Linked DNA regions of Homo sapiens: all the other regions are linked to region 1. Evidence: promoter capture Hi-C in 16 types of primary human blood cells and fetal thymus (Javierre and others, 2016). All regions are on one chromosome and are shown on one strand. Each heading gives the region's core, a stretch centred on a gene start or on the middle of the fragment in contact. The rest is flanking DNA. Distances are from core to core; before and after follow the strand shown. Region 1 holds the start of AIP (AHR interacting HSP90 co-chaperone). Region 2 overlaps KDM2A (lysine demethylase 2A). Region 3 overlaps KDM2A (lysine demethylase 2A). Region 4 holds the start of LOC100130987 (a long non-coding RNA gene).

Region 1 (3,191 bases), core at 284-2,783:
CGCGCCCGGCCCTGCTTTCTGTCTTTGTGAATCTGACTACTCTAGGTACCTTACATAAGTAGAATAATACAGTATTTTCCTGTATGTGACTGGTACTGTTATTTCACTTAGCATATTGATGCTTTTTTTTTTTTTTTGAGATGGGGTCTCACTCTATCACCCAGGCTGGAGTGCAGTGGTGCGATCTTGGCTCACTACAACCTCCATCTCCTGGGCTCAAGCAATCCTCCAGCCTCAGCCTGCTGAGTAGCTGGGACCACAGGCGTGCACCACCACACCACCTAATTTTTTGTATTTTTGGTGAAGATGGTATTTTGCCATGTTGTCCAGGCTGGTCTTGAACTTGTGAGCTCAAGGAGATCCAGGAGATCCACTTGCCTTGGCCTCCCAAAGTGCTGGTATTAGAGGCATAAGCCACCACACCTGCCCCATACTGATGCATTTTTACATGACATTAGTGAATTCAATTAGCCTAGTATTTTATTTAGAATGTTTCATATCAGCTGGGCGCTGTGGCTCACGCCTGTAATCCCAGCACTTTGGGAGGCCGAGGTGGGCGGATCACGAGGTCCGGAGATTGAGACCATCCTGGCTAACACGGTGAAACCCTGTCTCTACTAAAAATACAAAAAATTAGCCGGGCATGGTGGCGGGCGCCTGTAGTCCCAGCTGCTCGGGAGGCTGAGGCAGGAGAATGGCGTGAACCCGGGAGGCAGAGCTTGCAGTGAGCTGAAATTGTGCCACTGCACTCCAGCGTGGGTGACAGAGCGAGACTCCGTCTCAAAAAAAGAAAAACAAAAGTTGTTTTAGCCCCAAAGTACCTCATTTCTCTTTTCTTTTAATTTAATTTTTTTTTTTTGTTTTGTTTTGAGACAGCATCTCGCTCTGTCGGCTAGCCTGGAGTGCAGTGGCACGAACACGGCCCACTGCAGCCTCGAACTCCTGGGCTCAAGCGATCCTCTCGCCTCGGCCTCCCAAAGTGGTGGGGTTACAGGGCCACCGCGCCCGGCGCTAAAGTACCTCATTTCTATCATTCATCGATTATTCCCTAATATTAATTGGGCACAACTATGACTCATTTCCGACCCCGCAATGGGCTCTCTTGGTCTCCTTCTCCACCTTTCTTTCCCTCTTCCTCTTTTTATTTTTTGAAAGAGGAAGATCCAGGATGCAAGAGTCCCGACAATCATACTAGATATGCGAAAGAGAAAAAGCCGGAAGAAAATACACAAAAATCATAACACTTTGAGGGTGTGGCTTACGGGTGTTTTTTTTTTTTTTCATTTTCCTAACTCTGCAGTGCTGTTATATTCCATCCACAACTTCAAACAAAGTGCCACACGGCCGCAGTCCCAATCAATTCAATGACAATTGTTAGGGACGTCCTCGTCCCGCCCGGCCCGCGGACCCCGGCCCTTCCTCCTTGACAGGCTGGGGTCCAGCCCCGAGACATTCCTAGGCTCCGCCCCCGAGCAGACGCGCGCGCTCAGCCCCAGCGCAGAGAACCAATCACCATCCGTTTCCACGCTCAGTCCCTTTTGGCTTCTGCCCTCAACCAAAATGGCGCTAGCTCGGAAGCTGCCGAGGTGCTAGGAGTTGCCGAAGCAAGTCCGGAAGCTACCGAGCGAGTCCGGAAGTTGCCGAAAGGGAGCAGCGGGGAAGGAGGATGGCGGATATCATCGCAAGACTCCGGGAGGACGGGATCCAAAAACGTGTGATACAGGAAGGCCGAGGAGAGCTCCCGGACTTTCAAGATGGGACCAAGGTTCGTGTCTACCCTACCCTTCTCCCCCTCTGCGGCGTGGTGCGCATGCGAGGCGGGAGGAGGCCTTAGGCGAGAGGTTGCGCATGCCCAGAGGGCAGCGTCCACTGCCCCTACCGCTCACATGCAGAACTCGACGCTGATTGGGCTGAATTTAAGTAGGGGGTGAATTCGGGCCTGTCTGCCCCGCCCCCTGGCTCGGCCTTGTAGCAGCATTGGTGGGGGAGGCCGTCAGTCATCACAAGCGGGTTGGGGTTGGGGGTTGATCTCAGTGCTTGGGCAGACCCCACGCTGGAGGAAACCCAGGGCCGGGAGTGGTCCTCGGGTATCTGGGTTTCAAGGCTCATGATCCTTTGTAGATGGAAGGGCCTTCTGAAAACACTTAGACCAACTGCCGCTGTTTAGAGTGGAAAACCAAGACCCTGGGACGTGCAAAGCCGGAGAACGGGCCCAGAGGTCAGGTCTCCCAGACAGGGACTCTTTAGCAGCCTTCCTGCTGCACTAGGGGCTTGTTGGGACAGATGAGGGTTGGGAAGTAAAGAACCTCCCACTTTTCTCCTTTTTGCCAGGCCCCCAGATCCAGCCCCTCTGCCCGCTTCTCCCCCAACCTACAACTCCAGGCTTCCCTGCTTCTCCTGTAGTTGCCTCCTCCCGGAGTGCTTTTCCCAGCTGCCACTTGTTTGCAGAGTAGGGAACCTCCCAGGGGCAGCCCCTGTGCCCAGCAGAGCAGTCAGGCAGGACATGCACATTGAGCAAATGAGCACATGCCCCCTGGCCAGCACCGTGCCGAATCGGGCAGCTAAGCATCCTAGCCCAGTGCAGTATAAGTGCCCTGAGAGCAGAGGGGAGCTGCATGGCTGGAGTGATCCGCTGTATGAAAAGATATCTTCTCTAAGAAGAGACAGGATGTGTGGTGTGGGTTCATGCCCCCATGTGCTGGGGGGTTGGTGGCGTTGGAAGAAGGGGCTGGCAAGGGGGATCCTGGATGGAACAGACATCAGAAGGAGAGATGTGAACAATGGCACCCCAAGATCAGAAACAGGTGGTGTTAAATAACCAATCGCCAGCACTGATTGAGTGCTCACTATTCGAACATTGTGCTACATGCTTCACACGTTTATTTCCTACAATGTGAGATAGGTACTGTTGTTGATTCCGTTTTACCGATGTGGAAACTGACTTCAGAGATGCAGCATGGTGCGGCAGTTAAGAGCGTGGGCTCCTCTAACCATATCCTGTCGAGAGTTCAATCTCCAAACCTCTTTTCTCTGCACCCACCCCCAGTGTTATCTCTAAAAACTCTCCCTGCCCGGATTACTCCCAGATGCAGCTCTCCAGTCATTAACTGTCTCTTAAACCTGATATATAGCTCCCTACTCACCATATCCACCTGGAAGCCTGGTTGGCAACTCACACTTAACCTGCTCCA
Region 2 (3,191 bases), core at 499-2,998, 250 kb before region 1:
AGCCGAGATTGCGCCATTGCACTCCAGCCTGGGTGATGGAAGTGAAACCCTGTCTCAACAACAACAACAACAAATCCATTGGAGTAGTTTAACTAAAGTAGCTAAATAAGGAGATTTGAGGTGAAAGGGTGGTACAATGGTATACCAAAGGAAAAAGTAGAAAGATTTGGGTTAAATATTAAGCAGAGTCAGCAAGAAGAGAGGGGAGTTAAGAAGAGACATCTAAAGAGGAGGCTTAGCATTATGAAAAGTGTCCGGAGATAGCTTGCTTGTGTTTATCAGGGACCACTGAAAAACGTGACTGCCATCACTGGCTAAGATATAGTGGCAGAGGCCAGAGCATGAGGAACAAGTAGCCAGTGAGATGACTACACAGGCCGACAGTGTTTGAATTCTCCCTCCAGAGACTTGTCCACAGCTTCTCGTTTACCCAAAACCACAGTCAAAATGTAGCTGACGTCAGAAGACAACAGATTTAGATTCCAGCTCTGCAGGTGTAGTTTCACTTAAGATCAAATAGATTAATTATTCCTATATTTGATCAGTTATGCTAAATCTCAGAAAAGATATAGCAAGCTTAGAGCTTGAATACCTTGAGAATCTAAGCATCACTCAAAAGAAAAAAGCATTAGATTGGGTAGCTGCTGAATCACTGCACAGCTGGGGACTTTCAAGTGCTAGAAAACTTGGTGCTTATAGCACTGATGGCTATACTTCAGTGGGGGACAAAGCTAGTACAGTTTACCCTTCCTGCAGAGAAAGGAATTGTTTGCTGTTGTAACCTATCTGGCTTTCAGGAATAATTAGTAGAAGAGATGAGGGGAAAAGTGGTAGATGAGATATTCATAATATTCCAAGGAAAAATAGTGCATTTCAGTGCTGTGATAAAAGGGCTTTTTTTAGGTTCTAAGGCGTTGAAGAACAAGTCATAGAATATAGAGTTGGAAGAGGATTAAGTGAAAAAATAGGACATTAAAAAGTACTGACTTGGGCTGAGCCCAGTGGCTCACACCTCTTGTCCTAGTGCTTTAGGCGGCAGACGCAGGCAGATCTCTTGAGACCAGCCTGGGCAACGTGGCGAAACCTCACCTCCACAAAAATACAAAATTATCCAGGTGTGGTGGTGTGTGTTTGTGATCCCAGCTACGTGGAAGGCTGAAGTGGGAGGATCACTTGAGCTGGGCAAGTTGAGGCTTCACTGAGCTGTGATCTCACCACTGCACTCCAGTCTGGGCAAAAGAGTGAGACCTTGTCTCAAAAAGAAAGTAGGCCGGGCATGGTGGCTCATGCCTGTAGTCCCAGCACTTTGGGAAGCTGAGGCGGGCGGATCATGAGGTCAGGAGATCAAGACCATCCTTGCTAACATGGTGAAACCCCGTCTCTAGAAAAAATACAAAAATTAGCCAGGTGTCTTGGCGGGCGCCTGTATTCCCAGCTACTTGGGAGGCTGAGGCAGGAGAATGGCGTGAACCCGGGAGGCGGAGCTTGCAGTGAGCCCAGATGGCACCACTGCACTCCAGCCTGGGTGACAGAGCAAGACTCCATCTCAAAAAAAAAAAAAAAAGAAAAAAGAAAGGAAGTATTGCCTTACCGGTAAACTGGTAAAGCTATCAGCGTGTGTATGAGGTTCTGTTTGGGAGGGGTTGTGGGTAATGTTGACTCTTGAAAGTGTACATAGGTAGAATAGGGTTTTCCTACTATGAGAATTTTTTTTTTTTTTTTTTTGAGACTGAGTTTCACTGTTTTTGCCCAGGCTGGAGTGCAATGGCGCAGTCTTGGCTCACCACAACCTCCACCTCCCAGGTTCAAGCAATTCTCCTGCCTCAGCCTCCCGAGTAGCTGGGATTACAGGCATGCACCACCACCCTGGCTAATTTTGTATTTTTAGTAGAGACTGGGCTTCTTCATGTTGTTCAGGCTGGTCTTGAACTCCTGACCTCAGATGATCCACCCGCCTCTGCCTCCCAAAGTGCTGGAATTACAGGCGTGACACCGCGCCCGGCTGCTTTTTTGTTTTGTTTTGTTTTGTTTTGTTTTGTTTTTGAGACAGAGTCTTGCTCTGTCACCTAGGCTGGGGTGCAGTGGCGCCATCTCGGCTCACTGCAGCCTCCACCTCCTGGGTTCAAGTGATTCTCCTGTCTCAGCCTCTGAGTAACTGGGTCTACAGGCACGCACCACCACTCCAGCTAATTTTTGTATTTTTAGTAGAGACGGGGTTTCACCATGTTGGCCAGGCTGGTCTTGAACTCCTGACCTTGCGATCCACCTGCCTTGGCCTCCCAAAGTGCTGGGATTACAGGCGTGAGCCACTGCGCCCGGCCAAGATATCCTTAACATTTCTAAAATTGGAAAGTTGTATTCTTGATATATGTTGAATAAAAAGGTAGGACATGTAACAGTATGTATAGTACCATCCCATTAATGTAAGAAAAAGTGTATGCGTATTTGTGCATTGCAGAGGAATCTAAAAGGGTACATCCCAGCCTGCTAATAGCAGGGCACAATAGGATAGTAGTAGTCAACTGGAAGAATTTGTGGTTTTTTTGTTTTTTGAGATGAAGTCTTGCTCTGTCACCCAGGCCGAAGTGCAGTGGCGTGATCTAGGCTCACTGCAGCCTCCGCCTGTCGGGTTCAAGTGATTCTCCTGCCTCAGCCTCCTGAGTAGCTGGGATTATAGGTGTGTGCCACCACGCCTGGCTAATTTTTGTATTTTCAGTAGAGATGGAGTTTTACCATGTTGGCCAGGCTGGTCTTGACTCCTGACCTCAAGTGATCTGCCTGTCTAGGCCTCCCAGAGTGCTAGGATTATAGGCATGAGCCACCACGCCCAGCCACAATTTGAGTTTTTAATCAGATTGTTGTTTTTGTTGGTATTTATTTTGGTGATAAAGTAGTTCTTAATATATATGCATATATAAAAGAAGCTTTTTATATAACAATATATCTGGCGGCCCAGCTCACTTAATAAAGCAAATTCAATATTGTTGAATACTTTTCGACTTTCCTGTTTTCTCTAAACATTTTGATAAGCCTGCCAATCATACTTTGTGACTTTTGGGTAAGTTACTAAATTTATGGAAACCTATTTTCTCCTCTATAAAATATCTGTGAGATTGTTGTTAAAATTAACAAGATTAGTAAAATACTTAATAAGCAGTGCATTATTACAGCCAGAAAAAAGTTAGATGTTA
Region 3 (3,191 bases), core at 431-2,930, 230 kb before region 1:
CAGCACTTTGGGAGGCCAAGGCAGGTGGATCACTTGAGCCCAGGAGTTGGAGACCAGCCTGGGCCGACTCTGAGGGAATGACCCCCTCTCCAACGTGACCTTTCTTCTCTCTGGTCCCCTGAGAGCAAGGGAGGTCCACCCTGTCGGTTCAGAGGGTTTGGAAGAAAGGAAGCACTGATGTTGCTTTTCTGGGCCTGTTTTGCAGAAGCGGAAAATGGAAGAGAGTGACGAAGAAGCTGTGCAAGCCAAAGTCCTGCGGCCCCTGCGGAGCTGCGATGAGCCTCTCACGCCCCCGCCTCATTCACCCACTTCCATGCTGCAGCTCATCCATGACCCGGTTTCCCCCCGGGGTATGGTGACTCGGTCATCCCCTGGGGCTGGCCCCAGCGACCACCACAGTGCCAGCCGCGATGAGCGCTTCAAACGGCGGCAGTTGCTGCGGCTGCAGGCCACAGAGCGCACCATGGTACGGGAAAAGGAGAACAATCCCAGCGGCAAAAAGGAGCTGTCTGAAGTTGAGAAAGCCAAGATCCGGGGATCGTACCTCACTGTCACGCTACAGAGGCCCACCAAAGAGCTCCACGGGACATCCATTGTGCCCAAGCTGCAGGCCATCACGGCCTCCTCTGCCAACCTTCGCCATTCCCCCCGTGTGCTAGTGCAGCACTGCCCAGCCCGAACCCCCCAGCGTGGGGATGAGGAGGGGCTGGGGGGAGAGGAGGAGGAAGAGGAGGAGGAGGAGGAGGAAGATGACAGTGCAGAGGAGGGGGGTGCAGCCAGGCTGAATGGCCGGGGCAGTTGGGCTCAGGATGGAGACGAAAGCTGGATGCAGCGGGAGGTCTGGATGTCTGTCTTCCGCTACCTCAGCCGCAGAGAACTTTGTGAATGTATGCGAGTGTGCAAGACGTGGTATAAATGGTGAGCAGGGATTCAGGGGGTCAGGAATTAGGGGTATGGGAGTAGGTGGCAGGTTTTCCATATGAGAACAGCATGCACCTTGGCATCTGAAAGCCTGTGGGGTCTTATGAGGAGTGAATTGACCCTTTTTCCCAAACTTTGGGTCCTGTTTAAAGATGTAGCCTGTTGTACCCGCAGATGTCATTAGGGAACTGGCCATTTGCCTCCTGGCCCTGCTCTATACTTTCCCATGTCTCATTGTTATGGGGAGGGAGACTGATTTGCGGGATAGATTTGTAGTCTGTGATAAAACTTGAGAGTCTTGCGGGCTGAAAATTTCCTCCTCAAGTCAGCTGAACTCATCACATGTTGGTTGAGAGCCTATGATGTTCTAGTCACTCTTCTGGTGCTGATAACACAGATAACCTCACTTAAGCCCCTGACTCAATTACCTCTCCATTCAGTGAGAGAAGTGGGCATGCTTTTCAAGATGAATTTGAAGGTGCTTAACATTTTTCTTCAGTTTTAATGCTCATCCCCCCAAACCTGGATCAGAATTCCCTCTTCCAGCAAGCAGAGTCCAGTTTTGAAGCTTCCTTAATGAGAGCTACCATTTCTTCTTAAGTTGGACAGACACTTGGGGGAAAAAATTGCTAGTGATGATGAACAAGGAGCTTCCCATTGGGCATTGTTGGTTTTTCCTTAAACTCTGGTATATATTTACTCTAGGATATATCCTTTTTATCTGGGTCACACACATCCTATTACAGTAGTGTGGTGTCCTGACCAATGGCATTCACTCAGGAACTTTTTAGAAATGTCAACTGTCAGGACCCTCATAGGCCTCTTAAATCAGAACCTCTTGGGTGGGCCCAGCAGTCTGCTTTAACAAGCGCTCCTCCAGGGGACTCTGATGCATGCTCGAGTTTAGAGCAGCAAAATCTGCTGTATTGTCAGCAGCTTGCTTCTGCCATAGAAGCTTCATGTGCCACTGGTAAAATTGTTTCAGTCTCTAAATAGACCCTATTCTTTGCAAACATGAGTTTATTTCCCAAATCTGAATTAATGTATAGTGTATCTAAATTCTCCTTAATATTTCTCTGTCTAGGGCTAATAGGACTGCTTGGCTCTACCTCTTGGTTTTCAGGGCAAGGCACATCAGATTCCCGTTATGTGCTGTCTCTCTTCCCCTGCCAACCAGGCTGGGGGGCAGGGGCTATAAAATATTAAATTGAAGCCAGCATGTTGTGGTTTGTGGCCTGTAGATTTGTAGACTGCAGTGGAAAGCCAGGCCTATCCCTTTCAGTTCTGGTCTGGCCTGGCTAGAAAATGTCAGGATAGCACTGAGGCAGAACTTGAGGGTGAGAGAGGACTCTGTAAGCCTGATAAAGAGCCTCTTTTGACCTGATACAGTAATGGGCTGAAGGCAGGGTGAATTGTGGATGTGCTGAGTAGCACCCTGCATTTCAGGCAGCTGCGAGTGATTGACAAGGGAGGGAACGGAGCAGGCCTTCTTAGCTTTAGACAGTAAGAAGTCTAGAAACTTCAAGAGGCTCCCTTATATACACTTCAGCAGGAACCATGCCATTTTAATACAGATGAAGGGGCTATAGACTGTTGCTTGCTATGGGTCCCTAACAACTGTTGTGTTCTCAAACACTCCAGAATAAATCAGGGTAAAGTGGTCAAGTTATATACTATCAACATGTAGGTTTGCAAAGCGTCTAGTTGTTGTAGAGTTCAAGGCAATTTTTTGCCTATTCTGTGAGGCAAAAAATGATAAGGTGTGATCCCTGTACACTTGTAGAAGAACGAGCCTCCAGGTACTCTGCTTTTCCCAGAAGCCATAAGCAGCCTGTGATGGGAGCTCCACTGATCAAGTTAATGAAGGCGAGTTCTCTTCCCTTCTATCACAGGTGCTGCGACAAGAGACTTTGGACAAAAATTGACTTGAGTAGGTGTAAGGCCATTGTGCCCCAGGCCCTCAGTGGCATCATCAAGAGGCAGCCAGTCAGCCTTGACCTCAGTTGGACCAACATCTCTAAAAAGCAACTGACATGGCTCGTCAATAGGCTGCCAGGTAAGTGAGCAGCCCTGCCGCTGTCTTTCCAGGGGCCCAGAAGAAGCGGGCAAGAAAAGTTGCATTATTGGCAGTGCTTCTTAGCATCACTGGAGGGCAGTGTAGGGCAGCAGTCCCATGCCATTGTTGCTTAGCAAGAGGTTTACCCAGGGCCATCTTAAGTGTCAGTCTCCCAGGCAGCACTCTGGACTGGCAGGCCAATCACTGCAATGGA
Region 4 (3,191 bases), core at 498-2,997, 170 kb before region 1:
GTTCTGTGAGCTGCTCCAGCAAATTAATCAAACCGAAAGAGGGGATCGTGGGAACCCCAACTTGAAGCTGGTCAGGCAGAAGTTCTGGAGGCCTGGACTTTTGACTGGGATCTGAGGGGAGGGAGATGCAGTCTTGGGGGCTGAGCCTCAACCTGTGCGATCCGACACTATCTCCCGGTAGACAGAGTTGGAATTGAATTGGAGGCCACCCAGCTGGTCTGTTGCTTGGTGTGTGGGGAGAAAAACCCCACACCTTTTTTTTTTTTTTTTGAGATGGATTCTCACTCTTGTCCACCCAGGCTAGAGTGCAATGGCGCAATCTTGGCTCACTGCAACCACCACCTTCCAGGTTGAAGCGATTCTCCTGCCGCAGCCTCCCGAGTAGCTAGGATTACAGGTGCCCACCACCATGCCTGGCTAATTTTTTTTGGTATTTTTAGTAGAGATGGGGGTTTCACCATGCTGGCGAGGCTGGTCTCGAACTCCTGACCTCAGGTGATCCACCCGTTTCGGCCTCCCAAAACGCTAGGATTACAGGCGTGAGCCATTGCGCCTGGCCAACCCAATATCTTTGGTCACCAAAGTCTTACGTGTTGATAATTGTGATGGTGTGAGAGCAGAGGAAAAACGCCATTTGAGTTTTCCCCCCAAATAGTACATAAAAGATTTGCCTCATTTAAAAAATAACCACACATGTTCTATTTTATGGAATCCATCAGTTAAGTGGTCATTTATTGATGAACATTTAGGTTGTCTGAGGGCTCCCCCCCGCCCCCATTCCAGGTAATGCTTTATAAAGCACTTTTGTGGCCGGGCGGGGTGGCTCACGCCTGTAATCCCAGCACTTCGGGAGGCCAAGGCGGGTGGATAACGAGGTCAGGAGATCGAGACCATCCTGGCTAACACGGTGAAACCCCGTTTCTACTAAAAATACAAAAAAATTAGCCGGGCATGGTGGCGGGCGCCTGTAGTCCCAGCTACTCGGGAGAATGGCGTGAACCCGGGAGGCGGAGCTTGCAGTGAGCCGAGATAGTGCCACTGCACTCCAGCCTGGGCGACAGAGAGAGACTCCATCTCCAAAAAAAAAAATCTTTTCTTTTTTTTTTTTTGTGCCACGACGCTGGCTAATTTTCATATTTTTAGTAGAAGAGGGGGTCTCGCCATGTTGCCCAGGCTGGTCTCTAACTCCTGACCTCAGGTGATCCACCCCCTCCGTCTCCCAAAGTCCTGGGATTACAGACGTGAGCCACCGCGCCTGCCCCAATACCATCGTTTTCTAGAAATGAGGAAACTGAGGCTCAGAGAAGTAACTACTAATCTCTAACAGAGCCGGAATCAGATCCTAGGTTTCTAGATTCTCATTCCAAGAGACTAACGCGGGAGCGGGGAAGGTGGCTCCTGGGCAGTCAACTGACTGCACATTTCCGCCCAAGGCGGGACCTGGATCCAGAAGTGCTTGGAGCTCGCGGGTGGGAGGATCAGGATGACTGCTGCTCCCGGAGCCCGACTTCAACTCCCACCGGGCATAGGAGCCTCTCAGCAGCGCGAGGGGTCGCCCAGCCTGGACCTGGAACGCTTGCAGCACGACCGTCGCGCGCTTCCCTCCGGAACCAGCTCCCACCGTCACAGCCCCCTCCCTCGGCCGCTCCCGGCTCAGCCCAGGCTGGGGCGGGGCCTCGGAAGCAACTGCCCTCGCCCTAGCCAGGGCTGCCGCTTGTTAGGCCAAGTTTTCAAACGGCAAAATCAACCGCGCTGAAGAGACTGTGCCTCCTTCTCTTCACTCCGCATCCCAGACGCCTCAGAGAAACTACCTTTCAGACCTTCGCGGCCTCTCCTGCGCCCGCAGCGCCCGGCAGCTGGGGACCCGGGCTTAGCCACATCGACCGCAACGTTCGCGCGCCACCTTGTGTCCATTCCCTTAGCCTCCAGGGACAACCCGGAAACCACATTTCCCAGCGTGCCGAGCGCCTCTGCGCAGGCGCAAAGAGTTTCCCTCGTTGCCATGGGAACCTCGCCCCTTCTAGAGTCCTGGCCGCTTGACTCAGCTAAGCGCGAAGGTGTTGTTTCTTCCTGAGGTGCGCTGGGGCTGGGACCCGGTCTGCAGAAGGTCCAGGGGATGGCGTCGGGGGATTGAGGAGAGGAGACCAAGCCGGCCTTGCCTCCGGGACCAGCGCTTCCAAATTCTCTGGGGCGTCCCGGCGCGCACACGCTCCTGAGGCCTCGGCGTTCTGAGGAAAGGGGCTGGCGTGGCGACCCGGGTCCTCGAGGCCGAGATCTGGCTGTGGCCCGCGAAGCCCCGCTTGCCCGCGCCAGCGTCTTGTCACCCCGAGCCGAGGGCCTGCGCGCGGCCGACAGGTACTCCCGGGCGCTGGCAGCCCACGGGGAGGGTTCGCGGCGCAGGTGAACGCGGAGGTAGAATCAGACAGGGCAGTGAGTGCGCCCGGGGCTGGATCTGGCTCAGCCGCTGGTGGATTCGGAACCCGGGAGGCCCCCAGGCCCGGTGGGCTTCAGTTCCCACGCTCTGTAAAATGGGGCTTGGACTGGAATTCTAGTGTCCATTGAGATTCTGTTGCAGAGCAGCCCCCTGGCTCTGTGTGACCTACGAGTTCCTTCCTCTGTAAAATACGGAGGCTGAGACCGATGATCCTAACGTCTCTTCCTACGGTGCAGTATGTTACACACTGCTGGCCCCATTGCCCCTTATTGCACCCCAAGTGCAAGAAGAAAGAAGGGGACCTGGGATGATCTGAGCAAGACTCTCAGCTTGGGATCTAGAGTCAGAGAAACTTGGGTTTGTGACTTTGGGCAAAGTTAGGACATCTCTTGAGACTCAGCTTCTTCATTTGCAAGATTGGGGATAATGTTAATACTACCTCAGGTTTTTGAGGATTAAATGAGATGACGCATGTAAGTTTTTAGCCCAGGGACTGCATAGAGGAACTGCTATCCCAGGTCCCAACTATCGTTTCTGATAATTTCTACAATAGTCCCTAGCCACCATAAGACCTTTTCTTAATTTTTGAATTCACTTTATTTCTGGGCAAGTTCATTCTCCTAAGCAGGGCGGTTTTTTGCTTTTTGTTCGTTTGTTTATTTTGAGACAGGGTCTCACTGTCACCCAGGCTGGGGTGCGGTGGCGTGATCTCTGCTTACTGCAACCTCCTCCTCCTGGGTTCAAGCGATTATCGTGC

Evidence for each region. The method cuts DNA at HindIII sites, captures the fragments that hold promoters and counts their contacts. A CHiCAGO score of 5 or more calls a contact.
Region 2: a contact is called between a fragment that was not itself captured here and the fragment with the promoter of AIP in region 1, in 2 of 17 cell types (naive CD8 T cells and total CD8 T cells). The highest score is 5.3, in naive CD8 T cells.
Region 3: a fragment that was not itself captured here is called in contact with the fragment with the promoter of AIP in region 1 in 6 of 17 cell types (total CD8 T cells, naive CD4 T cells, activated CD4 T cells and 3 more); the score reaches 8.1 in total CD8 T cells.
Region 4: a contact is called between a fragment that was not itself captured here and the fragment with the promoter of AIP in region 1, in 2 of 17 cell types (naive CD4 T cells and naive CD8 T cells). The highest score is 5.3, in naive CD4 T cells.

Annotation. Positions count from the first base shown.
Region 1 is chr11:67,481,493-67,484,683 of GRCh38, forward strand. It overlaps AIP (AHR interacting HSP90 co-chaperone), which reads left to right and starts at 1,534. Exons shown (of 6, transcript NM_003977.4): 1 at 1,534-1,765. The coding sequence starts at 1,667. RefSeq lists an enhancer at 1,376-1,435. The HindIII fragment of the contact is 11,146 bases long and covers 1-3,191 here.
Region 2 is chr11:67,233,597-67,236,787 of GRCh38, forward strand. All of the region lies in intron 12 of KDM2A (lysine demethylase 2A), which reads left to right. Among named protein-coding and RNA genes, the nearest start is that of GRK2, 31 kb to the right of the region's middle. The HindIII fragment of the contact is 2,348 bases long and covers 575-2,922 here.
Region 3 is chr11:67,249,881-67,253,071 of GRCh38, forward strand. KDM2A (lysine demethylase 2A) reads left to right here. Exons shown (of 21, transcript NM_012308.3): 17 at 206-918; 18 at 2,814-2,977. Among named protein-coding and RNA genes, the nearest start is that of GRK2, 15 kb to the right of the region's middle. The HindIII fragment of the contact is 387 bases long and covers 1,488-1,874 here.
Region 4 is chr11:67,315,843-67,319,033 of GRCh38, forward strand. It overlaps LOC100130987 (a long non-coding RNA gene), which reads left to right and starts at 1,997. Exons shown (of 4, transcript NR_024469.1): 1 at 1,997-2,355. RefSeq lists enhancers at 1,628-1,677, 1,718-2,147 and a silencer at 2,368-2,417. The HindIII fragment of the contact is 3,873 bases long and covers 1-3,191 here.